2 separate regions of the Homo sapiens genome follow, and region 2 is linked to region 1. The links are contacts of gene promoters, found by promoter capture Hi-C in blood cells and fetal thymus (Javierre and others, 2016). All regions are on one chromosome and are shown on one strand. The core of a region is centred on a gene start or on the middle of the fragment in contact, and the rest is flanking DNA. Distances in the headings are between cores, read along the strand shown. Region 1 holds the start of BAD (BCL2 associated agonist of cell death). Region 2 holds the start of PYGM (glycogen phosphorylase, muscle associated).

Region 1 (6,235 bases), core at 1,398-3,897:
CTCTCTTAACTCTTTTACATGCTGCCCCCATACAAATCTTCTCACGCATGATAGGATGCTTTTGTGCTTGTTTGCTCATGGCCCCACCAGCTCACTAGAAGGTAAGCTCCACAAGGGCAAGGATTCCTGACGCTTGGGTTCACCGAGGCCCCCTAGCAACTGGAACAGCCTGTGTCACACGGTGAGCACTCACTGTGTGGCGCGAGTGAATGCTGAGTGTGTGTGGGGGGCAGAGAGCAGGGGAAGTTTGTGAGCAGAAAAATGGCCAAGTGCAAGCTCAGGAAGTTAAAGAAAGCTGTGGAGGCTGAGCATGGTGGCTCACGCCAGTAATCTCAACAGTCTGGGAGGCCAAGGTGAGAGGATTGCTTGGGCCCAGGAATTCGAGACAAGACTGGGCAACAAAGCAAGACCCCACCTCTACAAAAAATAAAAAATGAGCTGGTGTGGTGGCATGCACCTGTGGTCCCAGCTGTTCTGGAGGCTGAGGCAGGAGGATCGTTTGAGCCCAGGAGTTTGAGGCCTGCCTGGGCAACAAAAGGAGACCCCGCCCCTGCCCTCATCTCATGAAAATGTGAAAAATGCTGGGCATGGTGGCTCACGCCTGTAATCCCAACACTGTTGGGAGGCTGAGGCGGGTGGATTACGAGGTCAGGAAATGGAGACCACCCTGGCTAACACGGTGAAACCCCATCTCTAATAAAAATACAAGAAATTAGCCCGGCATGGTGACACGCGCCTGTAGTCCCAGCTACTCTGGAGGCTGAGGCAGGAGAACTGCTTGAACCCAGGAGGCAGAGGTTGCAGTGAGCCGAGATTGCACCACTGCACCCCAGCCTGGGCAGCAGAGTGAGACTCCGTCTCAGGAAAAAAAAAAAAAAAAAAAGAAAAAGTAAAAAATAAATTAACTGGGTGTGGTCCACACACCTGTATTCCCAGTTACGTGGGAGGATCACTTAAGCCCAGAAGTTCCGGGCTGCAGTGAGCTGAGATCGCACCTCTGTACTCCCTCCTGGGTGATAGAGCGAGACCCTGTCTCAAAACAAAACAAAACAAACAGAAAAAAAGAAAGCAAGCTATGGGGTCCAATCTGAGAGAATCGAGTGTGGGTGTTTATCCGTAAGAGAGCGAGGGGAAAGAGGCCTCTTAAGCCTTCTTAATCCTGAAAATGGGGAGGAGGTCTTTTAAGCTGCAGTGCCAGAGTGACATGACCTAGTTTTCTATTTTTAGAGATGGGGTCTGGCTATGTTGCCCAGGCTGGTCTTGAATTCCTGGGCTCAAGCCAGCCTCCTGAGTTGCTGGGACTACAGACATGTGCCACCCCACCCAGCTTGACCTGGTTTTTGTGTTCAGAAGATATCTGTTGTTGTTCCAGGTGCCAAGGCCAGTGCTGGGCACAGGGGTGCTAGAGCCTACTGAGAAATGGACATAGAACCCCAGTGTCCATCCTTCCATCTTGGAGCCTGTGCTTCTCACCCCACACAGCCCTGCTGTCTGGGAGGACTGTCTGCCCCTTGAGGTCATCTGCCCCTGGCCACTGTGCCAGGACAGTCCTGCTGTGGGTACGAGCCACAGGGCAAGAAAGAACACATCTGGGAGCTGGAAGGCCTAATCCCAGGGAAAGCATGTAGCCTGGGGCAGGGCACCAAGGAGGCTTCCAGCCCCCACATTCTAAGGAAAGAAACACCAGGAAGGTGTGGCCTTAGGCAGGCCCCTTTTCCTTTTCGGATCACTGCCTGCCTGTCACTGATTTCTGTCCTAACCCCACACTAATAGCTGCTATATATATATATATGTATTTTAAGAGCTGGAGTCTCCCTAAGTCACTCAGGCTGGCCTTGAACTTCTGGGCTCAAGCGATCCTCCTGCCTTGGCCTCCCAAAGTGCTGAGATTACAGGTGTGAGCCACCACGCCCGGCAGCAACCATTTTTTAGCTTTAATGTGCACCAGCTCTGTAATCAAGTGCATCCTATATGTTCCTGCTAATTAACTCAACAGTCCTACAATGGTGGTTATTAATTGCTGTTTTACGAAAGAGGAAACTGGGGCTCTGAGAGTTTGGGGACCGACCCAAAGCATTCAGTGCCTGTGGATGCAACTGGGATGCAGGGAGCCAGTGGGCTGGGGGTGAGGTGTCCCGGCAGGTGGAGGTGGTGGGGTACTTACCTCCATGATGGCTGCTGCTGGTTGGCTGCTCCTGCTGGTGACTGGCGTCCCACAGGAGGCCTGGGGCCTGGCGATGATGCTTGCCGGAGCCTGAGGGCCCGTCCCCTGCGGGGCTGGGGCCCAGGCCCCTCTCTGCAGAGCTGGAGTCTTCCTGCTCACTCGGCTCAAACTCTGGGATCTGGAACATGCTCTGGGCTGTGAGGACAAGATGTTACGTAGTCAAGGCACAGCTGGGGCCAACGGTGGCCCTGGAAGGCAGAGGCAGGTACCCCTGGCTTCCTCTCCCACCGTAGCGCCCCCAGGCCCGCCAGGCCTCCTGGGCCCTCATCTGTCTGCCGGGTCTGGCCTGGCAGGGAGCTGAGGCTGTCGGCTCAGGACCTCAGTCTCCCCTCAGAACCCCGGTGGACCCAGGCCCCGCCCCGCCCGTGGTGACGGCGCACAGGTCTCACCCCAAGCCCGATCTCGAGGCCCCTGACCCGGGCCTGCCGCCTCCCTCCAGCACCCCGGGCTCCGGGCCCTAGTTGCTTGGGCAACGGGAACTGTCAGCGACCTGGCCCAATCACCTCTCGGAACGTCACTCGGGTAGGTCCAGAGGCGGGGTCAACCCGGCCCGGCCCCGCCCCCCCGCCGGATCCAAGGCTCCTCGTCCGCATCCTTTTTCCTCCCTCCTTCGGCCCCGGGGCTCACATCCTCGCTGCCTCACACCTTGGGCGTGTGTGGGAGCAGGAGAGGGATTCTCTGGGGTCCCCATTTGGAACCTGGAGACCCACTTCTGCCAACAAGTCCTTCAGCCCCTCTGGGCCTTAGTTTCCCCCCAGTGAAGTGGGGATAGTGACAGCTCCCCCGGGAGCCAGTGAAAACTTTGTGAAGGGAGTGATTACTGCGGGCGAAGGCGCTTGGCACAGCCACAACTGAAGCTCAGCCGTCGGATGTGATTATTGTTGCTATTGTTACCGCTCCGCCTGGACTGGGTGCCCGGTCGGAAAGTCCCGCTCCCCGCTCCTCCTCCCAGGCGCGGAAGCTTCGCGCCGCCCGCCTCGGGGGACACCTCCCGCGCCATCTCGGGGGCACTGGAGATAAGGAAAGGAACCTCCTCCCTGGCTGGGATGGCTGCCCGGGCGCGGGAGGAGGGCCGGGGACCCGGTGAGGGAGGACCGTAGGGCCCGTGGGGGCTTCACGCCTGGCAGGCGGCCGGCCAGGTGAGCAGGGCCGCGGGCGCGCCGGGGCGAGGGGCGGGCCCGCGCGGGGGATTCGGGGCTCCGCGGGTTCAGGCCCGGGGGCGGGGCCCGGGGGCCATCTTGGCTATGGGCGGAAGTTTTCTTCAGAGACCGAGGGACGGGAATCCGTTGCCGCCCCCGGCCGGGCGGCACGACCCCGATTTGGGTATAGGAGAGAGGAGCGTGGGAACTGGCGGACCCCCATACAAGTAAAGGCGGGCGGCACGGGGCACGGCCCACCCGGGGACCCCCTGGATGCGGCACGGCCCCCGCAACTCGGCCGCCCTCCTGCCGCCTCCCGTAACCCCGGGCGCCCGCCAGCGGCGCAGCTCGCGCCAATTCTCGTACGGTTTCACGCCGGGTGCGGCGCTGGACTGCGGAGCCAGCCGGGCCGCTGCGCAATTTGCGTAGCGAACGGCGCCCGCGCAGGCGCGGAGGGGGAGGGGGGCGGAGCAGCGGGAGCCGGGGAGCCGGAGCCCCGGGTCCCCACGACCTGAGCCGGCTCTCCCATCAGCGGCCTGAGGACCTGGCGTCCGCCTCCTCCCTCCCCTTGAGGCTGGAGCGTGGACGCGGTGGGGGAGGGTGGGGCGGGGGCAGCTTTCGAGAATTACGAGGACAGGAGGCAGAGGCCCTCCCCATCCGCATTATTGGAGGAGAGAGAGCCTCCCCCAGCTTGGGGAGGGGGAGAGCGGGGCATTGGGCGCCCCTCGCAGCGGCCGCTGCCCTGACCCGACGGGTATCAGCCGGCTCTCCCCCTCCACCCAGGACGACATGAACGACCGAGGCCAGGGAGTCCTCTCCTTGGGCCTCTGCATCCCCCCATCCTTGGCTCTGGGGTAGGCCCAGGGAGGAGACACCCCCAACCCCTATCCGGTCTGTCCTGGAGAAAAGAGACTGCCCTTCCATGCCCCTGAGTGAGGGGCCTGGGGCCCAGGCTGCCTGTGTTCCCCAAGGGCAAGGGTCTCTCTGTTGAGGAGGAGGGGCCTGTCAGCCACAACTTCTTTCCTCCTGAGCGCCCCATCTCCCTCTCTGCACCCTGCAATTCCCACCCCTCCGTATTTATTTCCCTGGTCCCGCCGACAGTCCCTCCTTGTCTGTCTCCGGGATTCAGGCCTCCCTCCCTGACATGGAGAGTAACCTGTCTGGCCTGGTGCCTGCTGCCGGGCTGGTGCCTGCGCTGCCACCTGCTGTGACCCTGGGGCTGACAGCTGCCTACACCACCCTGTATGCCCTGCTCTTCTTCTCCGTCTATGCCCAGCTCTGGCTGGTGCTTCTGTATGGGCACAAGCGTCTCAGCTATCAGACGGTGTTCCTGGCCCTCTGTCTGCTCTGGGCCGCCTTGCGTACCACCCTCTTCTCCTTCTACTTCCGAGATACTCCCCGCGCCAACCGCCTGGGGCCCTTGCCCTTCTGGCTTCTCTACTGCTGCCCCGTCTGCCTGCAGTTCTTCACCTTGACGCTTATGAACCTCTACTTTGCCCAGGTAACCAACTGTGGTCCCGGGTGGGGGGCGGGAGGTGGCAAGCCTCAAGGACCCACAGGAGTGAAGGGCATCTCTGCTCCTAGGTGGTGTTCAAGGCCAAGGTGAAGCGTCGGCCGGAGATGAGCCGAGGCTTGTAAGTACTCGGGACACTGGTGGGCTCAGCCTCCAGGTCAGGGGCAGGTGACAGTCCCATGTAGATCCCTTCCCACCTCTCAGGGCTGAGACAAAGGCAACCCAGGGAATGTCTGTGGAAGATCTTGGAAAAGTTAAAGCACCTGGCGCAGATGGCTCAGCAGAGGCCTTGCAGATCTGCAAGGCACAGGAATAGGAATGCTTGTGGTAGTGTGAGGGAGAGGGCCCCAGTGTCATCCACCATGGAGGGCGAGCTGGAGGCTCCAGCCCATGGAAGCACCAAAGCCATATGCACTCCTGGGTGACCTGGGGCCGCAATGCCCTCGTCATTTGTACAGTGTCTTACGGTTTATAAAGAGCTTTCCCAGCCATCTTTTATTTGTACAATTTCCCTGAGAGGCTACTATCCTCCCTTGAGAGATGAAGAAACTGAGGCCCAGCCAGGTAAGACAGCAGGATCAAGGTCGCAGAGCTGGGGCTCAGACAGAGACTTCTGACTCCAGTTGGTGCACCTTCCGAAGTACCATGGCTGTCAGTCACCTTCTGACCTTTTTGGGCCTCAGTTTCTCCATCTGTAAGAGTGGAGGAACAGGGCTCAGACTGGATGCCCTGAGTTTTGTCGACATTGGGGTTTCCTGCAGGAGGTGGGGCAGGTGGTGAGTGCTGAGGGCTGTTGAGGGCCCGCGCTGACTGTGCTGTGGCTGCAGGCTCGCTGTCCGAGGGGCCTTTGTGGGGGCCTCGCTGCTCTTTCTGCTGGTGAACGTGCTGTGTGCTGTGCTCTCCCATCGGCGCCGGGCACAGCCCTGGGCCCTGCTGCTTGTCCGCGTCCTGGTGAGCGACTCCCTGTTCGTCATCTGCGCGCTGTCTCTTGCTGCCTGCCTCTGCCTCGTCGCCAGGCGGGCGCCCTCCACTAGCATCTACCTGGAGGCCAAGGTAGGGCTGCAGCACTGATGCCCAGGTGTCTTTTGGGTCTCTCGGCAGCGGTTCTCAGGGTGTAGAGGAAGCTGGGAGCCTTCTCTCCCTGAGGGTCCTCTGTTGTTACCTGTGCCAGGGGACCAGTGTGTGCCAGGCGGCCGCGATGGGTGGCGCCATGGTCCTGCTCTATGCCAGCCGGGCCTGCTACAACCTGACAGCACTGGCCTTGGCCCCCCAGAGCCGGCTGGACACCTTCGATTACGACTGGTACAATGTGTCTGACCAGGTGGGCATACGCATGTCTGCCACCTCCTTAGTAGCCGT
Region 2 (7,103 bases), core at 97-2,596, 480 kb after region 1:
TTCTCTAAGGCCAGGTTCACCATGGTGTTCTGTAGCGTCCGTCCCATATAGAACTCTAAAGACAGGTAGTAGATCCTCTGCCCAGAGAGACGGATGGGCAGGGAATGGGGTCAGGGCCACACACCAACACTCAGCCAGGCCCAGCCACGCCTGGACCTCTGGCCCGCCTGCCCTGCTCAGCAGTCCCATCCCTGTCCCCAATTTGTTTCTCCCTGTCTCAGGCTTTGGGGCCCAGCGGTTAAGGTTCTGGTCCCAGCATTCCTCTGACTTTGGACAAATCACTCTCTTTGGCCTCAGTCTCCTCATCTGGGAAATAGCGCTGGCCATACCCACTTCAGGGACTGAGGTACTCGGGAGAATGGGCACCCCTTCCCCCTGCACACACCCCCAGAGAAAAAAGTCATTTGCTCAAGGTCACACAGTGGCTAGAGACTGGGCTAGAGACTGTCACCTCCCATCCTTGCACTGTCCAGTTCCCCTTGGCCCTCAAGCCTCAATCCCAAGGAGACCCAGAGGCACCAGAAACTAGGATGCTGCCAGTGCCTGGTCTCCCAGTTTCCTGGGTCCCCTCCTGGGCCGTCTGCCCGCCCCTCCCCCACTCCCCACCGAGGCGTGTCAGGTTGCTGACATTTACCAGTGACCCCACCGGACACTTGATCTCTGCCGCCCCAGCTGCCCCAGCCCCGCCTGCTGCACAGGCACACCGCGCATACATGCAGCAACTGATGTGTCCTTCCACCTGGGCCCAGCCAGGCCACAGGCGCCGTCCTGCCCACCAGCACCCACTCCAACCTTCTCCGAGTGGGCACTGACCCTTTGCAGCCAGCCCACCTGCTCTGAGCTCCCTGACCCCCACTCCTGCCCCAGGTTTCTCCCTCAGATTGTCCCAGCACCCCTTGTGCCTGGCACCCCTGGATTCTCCACCCCCAAGAACCTAGAGTGACGAGGGGCAGCCACTTAAGTCAAGATCGCCAGCTCCCTGGCAGCGCCTTCAGCCCATACCCCCACCCCAGGCTCCCCAGCAGCACCTTGGGGTCCTTCTCATAGTAGTGCTGCTGCGTGCGGATCCAGCGCCCCACGAGGTGGTCGCGCACGGTATGGGCCAGAGCAAAGTAGTAGTCTCGTGGGGTGGCCACATTGCGGTCCTTTACGAGTGTGAAATGCAGGTGCCGGTTGAAGTTCTTTTTCAGCTCAGTCACGTTCTCCACGCCGGCCAGGCCACGCACACTGATTTGCTTTCTTTTCTCTTGGTCTGACAGGGGCCGGGACATGGCTGCAGGAGGGCGGGCCGGACTGGACTGATGGTAGAGGGGACGGCGGCCTCAGCACTGCCTCCAGCCAAGGAGTGGAGCTCCCCAGCCTCAAGGGGATTTAAAGCCTGGCTCTGGGCAGCACGCCCCGCCTCCCCTGCAATGGGAGGGTCTTGGCCTGGCAGCTCAGGGAGCTATTTTGAGGGCAAGGGGAGGAGAGGAGAGGGGAGGGAGAGGTGAGCTCCACTTGGGCCGCCAAGACTGGCCTGGCTTGTTCACAGGCCTGTGCTGACCCACTTCCTCCAGGCCTTGCACATGGTCTTCTGTCCCTTGTCCCTGCCTTTTGGAGGGTTGGATACAAGAAGGAGCAGGCAGAGTGCTGGATTGGGGAGCTGTCTGTCAGTGGCTGAACCAGGATGGGAGGCCATGTGTTGTGGCAAAAGGAACCAGGACCCCCTGCAGGCTGTGGTGCAGGAGCCAAGTCAGTGTCCCCTGACGGAAGAGGTGCAACTAGCAGAGGCCACTGGATGTCTTTGAGAAAGGGGCCCACGACCCTGCATTGCAGGGGTGGTGTGAGGGAGGTTGTGTGAGGCAGGGCCACAGCCCTCACTCCACCCCCACCGAAGCTGAGCAGCTCTAGGCTCCCCCTGTTGCTGTCCCTCAAGGAGCCCTGAAGTGACCTTTTGGAGAGGGATGCTCAGGTTACTGGCCAGCATTGGCGGGAGGCCGCTAGCCTGCAGCACGGGGCCCTGGGAACTGTAGTCCTATAGGCCCTCGGCGGTGGGAGAAACTGAGGCATTCCCCACTCCATCATCATACTGGTTTAATGACAGTAAGTTCTCCCTGTGATTCCACTGCTTAGGAAGTGATTAGAGGCCTTCTTTCACTTCTTCCTGCCACCTGGGGCCACACTCTGAGCAGGATTTTGTAAACCAGCTCTGTGACCTGGCCTATAAAATGGGTGCCTAATCTGTACCTCGAGGACCTCACCCCATTTGTGTGCATAGCCCCACAGCTTTGAGCCCTTCCCTGGAGGCTTTGGCTATCCTCCCATTCACTGCTGTGTTCTGGCCCCAGCACTGACTTGCTGTGTGACCTCAAGCTGGTTGCTTTACCTTTCTGAGCTTTGGATTCCTTCACCAAATTTAGACTCTCCAATGAGAAAAAAAAAAATCCCTGCCTCTCAGCTGCTGCCTCCTCATCTTGTGAGGGCAGGCTTCGGATCCTGCTGTTCTTTAAGAGAAAGGAACCAGGACCTTGTGCTAGTTCAAAGGCTGTTTGGGCCTCCCGGGTGGTGGGCCGGTGGAGGGGAAGAGCTGGGTGTTCTGTTCTGAAGGCCAAGGAAGCAGGTCAAAAGCCTGGACAGCTGCAGGATACTATTGAGAGCCTGGTTCGGAGAAAGCCAAGCTGTTTCTGAGAACTTTTTTTTTTTTTTTTTTGAGGTAGAGTTTCATTCTTGTCGCCCAGGCTAGAGTGCAATGGCATGATCTCAGCTCACTGCAACCTCCGCCTCCTGGGCTCAAGCAATTCTGCCTCAGCCTCCTGAGTAGCTGGGATTACAGGCACCCACCACCATGCCCAGCTAAGTTTTGTATTTTTAGTAGAGACGGGGTTTCACCATGTTGGACCAGGCTGGTCTGGAACTCCTGACCTGAGGTGATCCGCCCACCTTGGCCTCCCAAAATGCTGGGATTACAGGCATGAGCCACAGCGCCCGGCCTCCGATCACTTTCTGAGCCATGGCAGACCCAGCCCTGGAATCACCGGCTTAGTATGTGGGCCAAACTTCAAGTCCTACAGAGGTCTCCAGGCTCCCAAGCCCTGCTCTACCCCTGCCCCCAAAAGGCACGGGCACACTGTCTTCTGTGGTGCCTGCCACATTTCCAAGTAGAGAAAAAAGATCGGGAAAAAAACACCAAAATACACCTCCACAGACACGGGGATGCAAACAACTTTTCCTTACATTTTTCTGTTAATTTCCAATTTCTCTTAAGAAGTGTTTCATAAACCATTAAAAAACAATGCTGGCCGGGCGCGGTGGCTCACGCCTGTAATCCTAGCACTTTGAGGCCGAGGTGGGTGGATCACCTGAGGTCAGGAGTTCGAGACCAGCCTGATCAACATGGCGAAACCCCGTCTCTACTAAAAATACAAATATTAGCCAAGCATGGTGGCACATGCCTGTAATCCTAGCTACTCGGGAGGCTGAGGCAGGAGAATCACTTGAGCCCGGGAGGCAGAGGTTGCAGTGAGCCGAGATCACGCCACTGCACACCAGCCTGGGCGACACAGCGAGACTCTGTCTCAAAAACAAACAAAAAAACAATGCTGGCAGCTGTCTGGTCTCTTCCCCTTTCACAGTTTGCACCCCAGCCTCAGCTCCTGGGCCTCATCCCCATCCTCCACTAAGCACAGCTTGGACTCCAGCTTGGCCTGGCATCCAAGGTTCTTCACAGCCCGCACTTGTCCCTTGGAGGGTTGCTGTGAGTAGAGCTGAGACTTCTTGGCAGTCCACTGCCAGGCAGGCAGTAGCTTGTTAACCATGCCGTCACCTCACAGCCCAATCGTGGCAGCCTGCTTTGGCCACACACACCTTCTTTGCATTGACCCCTATTTCCTGCAAGACTTTATGTTCCTGCCACTGAGGACCCGATCCCCATAGACCATCCACATCTTACAGGCAGGGAAGGCCAAGTTCATTCCATCCTTTCCCAGCTACTCTCCCCTCTTGCACCCAGGGCGCTTGCTCTCAGGAACATTTTTACTGGGAAATTTTTAACTTTCTCCAACTACCTTTTCTGTGGCTTCTTTCCGTCTTTGTCATGCCATCACTCCCCACTGTTTCCAGGCTTTGTCCCGGGGTGACACTGCATGCCCCAGCCCAGCATGATCACACCTGGGCAGCACGATCTCATCTGTTTCCCTGCTTCCTCCGCCCCTCCTTGGTGTTGTGTATGCAGGTTTAATGAACCCTGAAGCACTTTTACAACCTGAACTCACTCGAGGTTATTTATGTCTAAGTTTCTAACTAGAAACCCGGCCTCCTTCCTTGGACCAATCCTGGGTTTCTCCAGAGCCCTTGGCTGAACCTCAGTAACAGAGCCCTGAGGCTGACCTTTCCCCACTGGCATTCCTCTTGCCAGGCCTTGCCAGGCCTTGAGGGACGGGGACAGTGCTGCTACAGCAGCAGAAATGAACGTGAGGAGAGGGGGTGGGGCAAGCACAGCCCTGTCACAATGTGATGGAGTAAATGGCTTGCTTTCCCACCCCAGGTGTCTTAAGACAGGTGGGCAGGCCTTTCTCTCTCTGATTCTGCCAGAGGCAAGTGCTTGCCACGGTTCAGAGGGCCAAGCCTTCCTGCTGTCTCTTCCATTTCAGGGCCTCTAGCACCTTGGAGACTGATGCCTTAGTCAGCCACTTCCTCTCCAAAACCTTAACAAAAGCTGACGGCAGGGAGCAGAAAGGGAGGGAGCACAGGAATGGAGCTGGCCTGGGGGAGAGAAGCGGAGGAGATAGCTAAGCTGTGGTTAAGTCATTTATTGATTTTATTTCTAAAACCCACATAGCGCCACTTTGCCGCTTCCAGAGCTTCAAAGAGCTAATTAACCACCCAATGAGCCCACCAGGGAAACCAAGCTTGTGGGAGAAGCAATGAGGTGAAGCCAAGGTCAAAGAGGGTAGCCAGGCCCCAGGCCCTGCCCCCATTCTGCCACTTAAGGACAAAGGCAAAAAAGATGTCCTCCTTTTGGTGAGCCGAAGTTTAGGGCTTGGCTGGGGAAACGCACTGAGCCTGCCTTGCTTCTGAGGGCTCCTCAAGCCTGGCAGACCCATAGCAAAGCACAGGCCTCCTGGACGGGGGACCAGACACCCCAGTAAACAGCAGTAGCCAGCCCTAGCTCACAGCTGGAAAGCAGCCCAGGCCAGTTGCTGGCCCCAGCAGCCAGATGCTGGGGGAGCCTACTGTCCCTCAGCCGCCCTGAAGGAAGGAGAGGCAGGTGGAACCAGGGCAGCTCTAAGGCACCTCTGCCCAGGAGAGGACCTCACTACCTGGTGGAGACTCCACATGGATTTTTCTGGAACCCTAACAGTAACTACCCACTCGCCGCCCAAGACATGGAAAAAAAGCAGAAGACCCTTTGAAAAGTGCTTGCAAAGCACAAGATGGGGCACTTTATCCTGTCCCCCCGACCCCCGCCAAAGCCTACAGCGCTGGCAGGCTGCAAGTCACCAGCAGAGAAGGAAAAAAGCCACTTGGCGGTTTTAATTTTAGCTGCTCTGTGCCTGACAGGCAGGATTAGTTGGCTTGACCTTTAGTGTTGATGCCTCCCCAGGCCCAGGGCCTTAGGTGGCAGCTTCCAGGCACAAATCACCACTGGAGCTCATCAAACGTGGACGTCTGAGCCCCAGGAAAAAGCCTTCAAAGGACAGAGACTAGAAAAATGAGCAGTGAACAAGGAGGGGCAAAATTGGTTCTCAGCGATGTTAACTAGTCACCAAAGGGGAGACTGTGGAGCCACCCACACACTGAGCTCCCACCACCAAAGCCACACACAGGAGGCAGGTGGTGGGCTTCCCTAATTAACCACCCACAGTCTCACCCCCCCGGACCTGGTGCTGAACGAAAGTTAAGGCACCTTTGGTGCTGCTGCTGCTGCTGGTGGTAGAGGAAGTTTATGTGAAAAGAAAAACCGGGCGGGGCAGGCATTAAAAAGAAAATAAAGAAGCAGACCCAGAAAACCACACTGCTCTTTTATTCAATGGAACATCCCCGCTTTAGCGCAGTGTTGAATCTAACACCGAAAAAAGCCCAGAGAAATTTCTGCAGATAAACCAGTGAAGAGAACGCGCAGTATACATTATTGTCAACAGAATCACTTCATGGAGAGGGAAGCGGGAGGAAAAAGGAAGGAGAATGAACAAGGGGCTCAAACCCCTACACACTGCAAAACATTCAGACATTTGGGATTAAAACAAAACATAAAAGGAAGCCTTCCAGGAAGGAGAGGACCAAATGGAATCTGAGGCAGCTCAGGTGATCAAGGAGCACAGGAAGAACTCCAGGCTGGCAGGCGAGCCCGAGGGAGCTCAGGCTGCCCACCCACTGCTGGCAGGATCGCCAGGACGGATGGGAATCCCGAAACCTGGAGATGAACCTACCCTCGGCAACTTTACAAGACTCCCTTGACAAGGGTGGCAGAGATTAAAAAACCCCACGCTTTAAACAAACATCTTTGGGGGTGGCTATGGCACCTTGAAAAACCCACAACCAGCTTGACATGAATGGCCAAAGCCCTTGCCCAAAACCATTTGCTCCCCTCTCCTTGGTAAGGGAAGGAGAACTGGAGAGAAGGGAAAGGAATCTAAATTGCAGCAGAAGACCGGGGAGAGCATCTCCTTGGACGGAGTCTGAAGAAAGGAAAAGATAAAGAAGTAACAAAGGAAAAAGAAAAAAATTAATAAAAATTTCACGATATGGAGCCAGCGTGTTCCGATTCCGTCCACAAAAATAACTCAGGCTGCTTTGCCGAACCATCCTGTCCACCAGGGGCGTTGCTGAGGCTGTCTGCCTGGAAGGGTCACCAATGGGCGCGGAAAGTCCTCACTCTCATGGCTCGGGCCATCGCCGCCGCGGGGAGGGATCCTGGCGGCCCGGTTTGGGGAGAGGCAAAGGGAGTTGGGTGAGGAGAGAAAGAAGACAAAGAAGACACTCGATGCTACGGGGCGCCAGGAGAGCCCAAGCTGGCGCCCCTACTACCACCTGCCCGTTCCCAAGCGAATCCTCAGTCGCTTGGCCCAGCCCAGTGCGTGCACACACACACATGCGTGCACACACAATCACATGCGTGCGTCCCA

The links. Contacts are between HindIII fragments. The CHiCAGO score rates a contact against its expected background, and 5 or more counts as called.
Region 2: a contact is called between the fragment with the promoter of PYGM here and the fragment with the promoter of BAD in region 1, in 1 of 17 cell types (naive B cells). The highest score is 5.4, in naive B cells.

The regions. Positions count from the first base shown.
Region 1 is chr11:64,282,018-64,288,252 of GRCh38, forward strand. BAD (BCL2 associated agonist of cell death) reads right to left here and starts at 2,648. Exons shown (of 4, transcript NM_032989.3): 1 at 2,614-2,648; 2 at 2,165-2,359. The coding sequence starts at 2,351. GPR137 (G protein-coupled receptor 137) reads left to right here and starts at 3,831. Exons shown (of 7, transcript NM_001170880.2): 1 at 3,831-4,864; 2 at 4,948-4,997; 3 at 5,704-5,929; 4 at 6,048-6,197. The coding sequence starts at 4,508. RefSeq lists silencers at 2,528-2,817, 3,168-3,907. The HindIII fragment of the contact is 5,985 bases long and covers 1-3,183 here.
Region 2 is chr11:64,758,628-64,765,730 of GRCh38, forward strand. PYGM (glycogen phosphorylase, muscle associated) reads right to left here and starts at 1,347. Exons shown (of 20, transcript NM_005609.4): 1 at 1,029-1,347; 2 at 1-77. The coding sequence starts at 1,271. It overlaps SF1 (splicing factor 1), which reads right to left. Exons shown (of 13, transcript NM_004630.4): 13 at 5,979-7,103. RefSeq lists enhancers at 1-52, 53-756, 757-1,461, 1,462-2,164, 3,501-3,550 and 6 more. The HindIII fragment of the contact is 7,098 bases long and covers 1-4,884 here.